2 separate regions of the Homo sapiens genome follow, and region 2 is linked to region 1. Evidence: promoter capture Hi-C in human tissues and cell types (Jung and others, 2019). All regions are on one chromosome and are shown on one strand. Each heading gives the region's core, a stretch centred on a gene start or on the middle of the fragment in contact. The rest is flanking DNA. Distances are from core to core; before and after follow the strand shown.

Region 1 (3,824 bases), core at 644-3,143:
GCACAGCAGCTGCCCTTGCCACATTGGGCTGAATGCTGGCTCTTGGCACCCCAGGGCCAGTTCCCCTTCTGCTCAGATCCTCCTGGCTCAGTTCTAGGCTTATTTGCCCCACAGAAAGTAGATCTCAAGGTGTCTTCACATTGCGTGGTGCCCCCAATCCACTGATTCTCTAGATGACATTGAATAAGTCCTTGAGCTCCTCTGGGCCTCAGTTTCCCCACTTGTATGATATGGTAGTGATGACATGATTAAAAGTTTAATGAGGCTCTTTTCAGCACAGAGCTGGACACTGTAACATAGAATCTGTGTTCCACACCCTGGCTGTCACCTGACCTCACCCTCTCCATGCTCCTGCAACAGCAGCCTGACCACCCTCATTCCACCTCGCACTCATTACCACCGATTCATATGCACCTGCCCAATTCTAACTGAGTGGAGATGAGGTCAAACAGATGGAGTTGAGGGCAGCGGCAATGGCCTGGGCCCCCAGTAGCTGGGGCCTCTGCTGCTCACGGTCCCACTAGATCCTGAAGGATGGTGGGAACCTGGGAGAGGGCTTGGGATGCCATGGCATGGTGGGGGTCACGTGGTTTGCCATCTGGATGATACTGCCTAGGCTCACTGGGAGACACACCTGGGGTCTCAGCAGGAGGCGAGCAGATGCCTGGGAATGGAACATAGGCCCAGGACCTTAAGAGGAGATAGATCCCATGGCCCGGGGCTGGGCTGAAGGCACTGAGGAGCACAAGAGTGAGTCCTGCACTATCTTAGCCATGGCATCCTGATCTGGCTGTGCTCTGCTCTCCAACAGGTGTTTGCAAGGCAGGCCTACAGCCAGGGACTTGTCCCCAACATCATTTCCCCCCATCCTCATCACCACCACTAACAGTCCCCACACCTCTGGCCCCCACCAGCTCTTGGCCTCTCGGACAAAGCTTGGCACCTCCACTTTCTTCCAGAGCGCCACCAAAGACGATCAAATAACACAGAGGTCGAGAGCCACCTCCCATCAGGGTGCGTGGATCTGTTCCGGCTCAGAGAGAGGAGGGCAGAGAACTCTCTCCAATCTCACCGCAAAGAGATCTCCACCCCTTCGAGAAGCACAGAGATCAGACAGAGGAGATGCGGCCCCTTTAGGGCGTCAAAGGGCACCGAGATCTCTACATGGTCTAAACGCGCAGAGATCTCGTCCCACAGAGAGGACAGCCCCAGCGGACGGTTCCCCCTGGGCCCAGAGAAAGGGGGTGCGTGGCTTCCTCCCCCATATCCAGCCCTGCTCGGTCAGCCCCCGCAAACCCCGCTCTCTGGAACCACATTCATGGCGCGCCTAGTCGCCGCTCTGACCTTGGGGTCTCCGGCCTCCGGTATCCGGGTCCCAATCCCAGACCCTCCCCGAGCCTGCGCCAGGGATGGCCGGGAAGCTGGGGCCGCAGCTCCCCCTCCCCCGGCCCTCGACAGCGCACCGGGAAACCCGGAAGGAAAGGGAAGGGAAGGGGGGCGCACGGTGTTTAGAGACGTCTCCCCCGGGGATACCCTCCAGCCGGGCGGATCTGCGCCCCTTCTCCCCCTCCGGCTCTCTGGGGCACTGATCGGGGAGGGAGCGGCTGGGCGGACCCGGGGCAGGGAGGAGCACGCAGGGACTGGAGGCTTCGGCCCTCGGGGAGGAAAGTTGGGCGGCGGCAGGCGGAGGGGGCTCCGGCCGGGCCAGGGCTGCCGGGCGCGGGGGCACTCGCTCACCTGCTGGTCCCCCGGCCGGGCCCCGGGGTGGGCGGCTGCTGCTTGGCGCGGACTCGGCTCGGCGCGGGGCTCGGGGCACTGGGCGCAGGCTCAGCGGCCCCGGGGGAGCGATCCCTGCATCCTACGGGCGCCGCCGCCGTCTCGGCTCCGCGGCTCTGTTCGGGCTCCCGGGCTGGGCAGGCGGCGCGGGCTCGGGCTGGGGGCGGGGTCGGGGGCGGGGTCGGGGCGGGCCCCGCCTGGGTTCGGCCTGGGGCTTGGGGCCCCGGGCTGGCTCCGCCCCAGAGCGACGCGCCCAGGGCTCCGCACGTGGTGCTCCGCCCGCTCGGAGGGGGGACACACCAGCGCCCGCCGGGGCGCACACTCCCACACTGACCCGGGGGCTCACAGCCACAGACAGCCGCACACGCGGCCGCGGACAGACAGACATAGGCGGGGGTACACACACGGCGACCCGGCGACGCTTCACCACAGATGGCCACCCACGCGGACGCGGACAGGCTCACATTAACAAACACTGGCATACACACCAGCACCCGCCAGAGTATACACACACACACACGCAACCTTGCTGACTTGGGAAGGCTACCAGACACCCACCCACCCACGTGGACACGGGCATACACTGACACTCATGCCGAGACAGACACACGCTGCCATAGGCATACCTGCACTGACACAGACACACACATGCACCCTGAGACAGATACACACCCCCACACACCCACACAGACACAGACAGACACATCATTGACACACACTGACACTGAGGAAGACACTCTGACAAACTTAGACACCCACATGACTTAGACACACATCCACTGACACACTGACACAGAGACACACACACTCACTCGAACCACACTTTCCTGGAGACACACTTAGTGATGCCACAGAAATCTGCACAATGGTACACATCTACCTGAACACACGGACGCACATGCTGACAGAACCAAACACACACCCAGACCCAGAAGCAAGCAGGCAACCAACACAGAGACACCCACACACGCGCGCGCGCAAACACACACACACACATACATATATATACATGTATATACCTCTTTATATATATACTTCCACCCTCTTGAGCCACATACAACCTTCACCTTGACACATGCAGAGCCTGGAGTCACATACTTACACACCCACTGTTTCTCACTCAGAGACATGGTCACAGGCACACACACACGGAGACATACGCTGACAAACAGTTGCTCCCATGCCCATGCCCAGGACCTATGGGGACACACTTCTTGTTTAAACAAAACAGGCCATCAGGGCAACCCGCTTGGGTCCCCTTCCACGCTGTGGAAGCTTTGTTCTTTCCCTCTTCACAATAAATCTTGCGCTTCTAAAAACAAAAACAAAAACAAAACAAAACAACAACAAAAAACAGGCCATCAGCTTTTGCCCACGAAAAAAGTACAGTCATTGGAAGGGATGGTACACTTTTCTGCCACATTTTCAGGGCTCCCAAAAGCAAGAACCGCTCTTAGAGAGCCAAATGGGTGCCAGGGTCTCAGAGGGCACAGAGGTGCTGGGTTTGGGAGCCCAGAGGCTGGGACCTGCTCCTCCATGATGGGGATCTTGAAGAGGTGGGAGGGCAAAGAGGGGGGTGGGGGACAGCGTCCGTTTGCGACCTGGGTGTGGGGCTTCGTTGGACGCCTTAGGTACATACGGAGGGGCTGCTCTGCTTGCAGGAGGGGATCAGTAGGAAAGTCAGTCCACAGGAAAGTTCAGGACATGGGCCTCTCCGGCCCCGAGTTGAGTGGGGTGTCTGGGGTACAGACGGATGGACCACACAGGTCGGCTGCCAGCCTTTAGCGCCTGACGAGCCTCAGGTTGGCTAGCAGCTCCCACTATCGGCCAGAAGGGGAAGTGCAGGCAGTGTCAACGTTTCAACCCACGTGCAGCCGCCTTCCCAGAGTCACACCTACCAGGCAGGAGAGTACAGTAGCAGGAAGGTCCTACCTCCCCTAAGAACTTCCATCACGGGCTTCTCGGCCTCAGAATGAAGCTTCTACTTGCAAACTGACATTGGGTCAAGCAGGAGACAAGGCTAGGATAGAAGCTGCTGGGAGTAGGGG
Region 2 (3,790 bases), core at 806-3,305, 51 kb before region 1:
CTGACCCAGTGAAGCCACCAGTGCTGTTCATCACACCTAACTTGCTGCTCAGTCCAACCCAATGGTCACAACCTGATAAAAACACACTCAACTGAAACCCTGCATAACTACCATCTGAAGACCACCCAACATTTCCAACAGTGCCATGAGACTTCTACCCACTGAGATGTAGCTTTGCCTTCTGTTTGCACATAGAAGGAAAGAAAAGTAAAATTACAGCAAGTTGACTCAAATTGGTGAAAAAATCTGAATAGGCCCTGCAGAGAACTACCTAGAGTCCTGGGTTTGGAAAGTAAGAAGAAAAGAAAATCCTCCTACCCCACAGTGTGAGAGACCTACCTGCCTATGGGGGGTCACTTGAACAGCTGGGCCTGAGACAGGCTGGGTCTTCAGTAAGAACAAGCTTAGATCAAATGGGGCCAGAAGTCCCCCTACCACCCCCACACCAGCCTCGATGATGATCTCACAAGCTCCTTTTTAAGGCCAGTGGGATCATGGCAACTCTGCCCTGGGATCCTCTAAAGATGGGCTGACTCTGTTTACCTCGACTGATCCAATATGGCCCTGTCCTGGGAGTTGAGAGATGACCAACTCTGCCCCTGCCATGTCATCCCTCCTGTCTCTGGGCCTCAGTTTCCCTATCTGTATAATAAAGAGGCAGGACTTGATTTGGTATCAAGAAAAAAAAAATCAGAATTAGAATCCAGACATTCTGACTTCCAGGAGCAGTCTAACAACAACAACAATAGCACAGCTATCATTTGTTTTGAGTGCTTACTGTTTATCAATCTATGAGCCAAGCATATTATACACATTATCTTATACAGTCCTCATTACCTTCCTATGAGGTTGATATTGTCATACTAATTTCACATTTATTGAATTCAACAAATATTTATTGGGCCAATTACTGAGTAAACTGCTTGAGATCAGCTAGTTAGTAAGAGCTGAGTCAGAATTCAAATCTGGCTCTGCCTGATTTACTTACTACACCCAGCTATCCATCCATCTGTCCATCCATCCATCCATCCATCCATCCATCCATCCATCCCTCCATCCTTCCCTCCTTCTATCCAACCATCCATCCACAATTTCCCCCATCCAACAACACTGATGCAAGCTCCGTCCATAAGAGAACTACTTCCTTCTGCACGCATTCTCCTCCACCTACAAATTACAAAATCTCAAGTCTCCACACATTTCAGGTTTACCCCCAGCTCACTTTTGTTTTCTAGATTCTGGGCATCTGCATAAACTTCTTTTCACTCCACCCTCCCACTCCAAATCTACATTTCTCAGCTCCTTAGAAGCCGACCCTGAGATTCCCTCCCTCCTCCAAGATGTCCTCTATGATGATTCCCACCCTCAAAAGATCCTTCTGTGTGCAGGATCCCTTCTTCCTTACCCATGAAGGCTGTGCCAGCTGCCCGAGGTCCCCTCCTGCCAGGATGCCCATTTGAGAGCCAGCTGCAGGCAGCCCTTACCAGGTTTCCGACCTGCAGCATCTCCTCGAATTCACTTGTCATGTTGTAGTGCTCCAGCGCCATGAAGAGTGTGTTGAGTACGATGCACATAGTGATGGTGAGGTCAGTAAACGGGTCCATGACCACCAACTTCACTCCCTGCTTGATGGACATCCACAGCGGGCAGCACTCCCAGATCAGGTAGCGCTGGGCGAGACGGTTCCAGCATGGTGGACACTTGTGGCGAGACTCCTCTAACTCTGAGGGGACAGCCAATGAGTTAGTTTGATTCTGTTGACTGAGTCATATGTAACTGGAATACCTTCCAGGAAAGATTTATGACTTGCTCTGGGAGATGACAGGGCTGCTAGGTGACAGCGGGACAGTGGGAGCAGGGAAGGCCAAGGGAGTGGGTGGCCTGTGTCCTGGCTCCTTAATCTGGAAATATGAGAGAAGAGGTCCATAGGGACAGGAAACAAAGATGGAGGTGGGGAAAATGGGGACAGGAGAGATTATCAGGACAAACGTACAACTGCTTAAGACAACAGTCCCACATAGACCTGGGGACACTCAGGGGAGGACAGGCTGAAAATGATGAGACAGTAATGGGGACATGCAAGTTCAGACACGAGGACACCTGGGACAGAATGGGCAGGGACAGATGTGGACATCTGGGATGTGTCAGGACAAATGGGAGAGGGGATGCCAAGGACAGGCTGGAAAAGATGAGAATACATCCGAGATAGGAGGGAACAAGATCAGGATGGGGGGTGCCCCATTCAGACTGGAAGGGATGTGGAGTTGCCTAGGGCAGGAATGGCTGGGAAAGATGTAGGATGCCTGGAATAGTCTGAAGTAGATATGGGAATAGCTAGAACAGGCATGGGTATGCTCAGGACAGGATGGTCCTAGATAGACATGGTTATGGTTGGGAGATGATGGAATGAGACTGACAAGCATCTGGGACAGGCCAGATGTGGGAGTATTTGGGAGAAACACAGGCATGGTGATACCCAGGAGAGAACAAGCTGAAACAGATGAAAAGACATGGAAGGACAGGCAAGGCTACACAGAACAGAGAAGGCTGGGACAGTGTGGGGATGTCTAAAGCAGGCCAAGACAAATGGGGGATGCCTGGGTCAGGCTGGGATAAAGATGAGGGTACCTGCAGCGGAAGTGGGGGGTGCTTAAATGACCTGGGGTTGCTGACCTTCCAGTGCGCTGGTGAGGACGCTGACTGCGCTGAGGGCCCGCTGCCGTGCTCCTGGCTCCTCGAAGCCATCTACACACGGAGCCTGGGAGGTCAGCATCTGGGGCCCGCCTGGCTCCTCCGATGGCGTGGTCTGAGTGCAATCAGGAGATTTGCGTCAGCCTGGGGAAAAGGGTCCTGCCCCCAGCTCCTGTCCTGCTGGACCTGGGGAGGCCGGTCCAGACTCAGGCTGGGGATGCCACAGGGATAGGATGAAGGTCTTGATGGGACACTGGATGCTGGGCTTCTCTGTTCCCAACTCCCTCCCAGTTAAGAACTCCCTCCACCCCTCCTCCCAATCACTGTCTCCTTCATTCTCCTTTCTTCTTCACTGCCTCTCATCAGCAGTGATTCCTGAGTGTGGTCAGGAAGCTACACATATCACAGGTCCTCCCTGAGCCTGATGCTGCCATACACATTAGTACATGCAAAAATGATCTGGGAGTCTTAACTGACCACAAGTTTCCTAGCGTCAAGAGCATAAAGAAGCTGAAAAAAAAATCTAACATGCTCTAAGATAATGCTAATAGCAGGATAAAGTACAATGCTTACATATGGCTGGTGGGGGGCTGTGTCTTTTGTGGAGGCAGTTAGGCTGGATTTACCAAGAAAATTTTAAATTGGCCCTCAAGTCCTCGTCTAGTAATCTAACTTCATAAATAATTACACATGTGCATCAAAAATACACATAAATGATGTTCATTGCAGCAGTGTTCCTAATACCATAAGAACAAAACACCAATCAATAGCAACCATATTCAAATCAATTATAGACACAGTCCAACTCTGGGCTCTGATAGACAACAAAGAGAACGAGGCAGTTCTTTGGATGCTCCCATGCGGACATCTCCAAGACAAACAGTTTGATGAAAAAACAAGAAAAAGATCTGGAAAATGCATACCAAATAATTAAAGTGGACATATCTGGGGAATGGGATTGTGGGGGAGGGGAAAAAGAGGGAGAAGTTCCCTTTTCACTTCATGTACTTCTGCACTGTGGGGTTTGTTTTCACCATGCATGCACCATTTTTATCAGTAAAAAACCCAGGCCTGGAAACAGCCCTGGTGAAGGGAGGTG

Evidence for each region. The method cuts DNA at HindIII sites, captures the fragments that hold promoters and counts their contacts. A contact is called where the count stands out against the background at its distance.
Region 2: a fragment that was not itself captured here is called in contact with the fragment with the promoter of SCN5A in region 1 in 1 of the 25 tissues and cell types used here (H1 embryonic stem cells).

Annotation. Positions count from the first base shown.
Region 1 is chr3:38,647,794-38,651,617 of GRCh38, forward strand. It overlaps SCN5A (sodium voltage-gated channel alpha subunit 5), which reads right to left and starts at 1,894. Exons shown (of 28, transcript NM_000335.5): 1 at 1,738-1,894. RefSeq lists a silencer at 1,853-2,012. The HindIII fragment of the contact is 3,470 bases long and covers 1-3,402 here.
Region 2 is chr3:38,596,245-38,600,034 of GRCh38, forward strand. SCN5A (sodium voltage-gated channel alpha subunit 5) reads right to left here. Exons shown (of 28, transcript NM_000335.5): 13 at 2,674-2,806; 14 at 1,485-1,723. Among named protein-coding and RNA genes, the nearest start is that of SCN5A, 52 kb to the right of the region's middle. The HindIII fragment of the contact is 8,541 bases long and covers 1-3,790 here.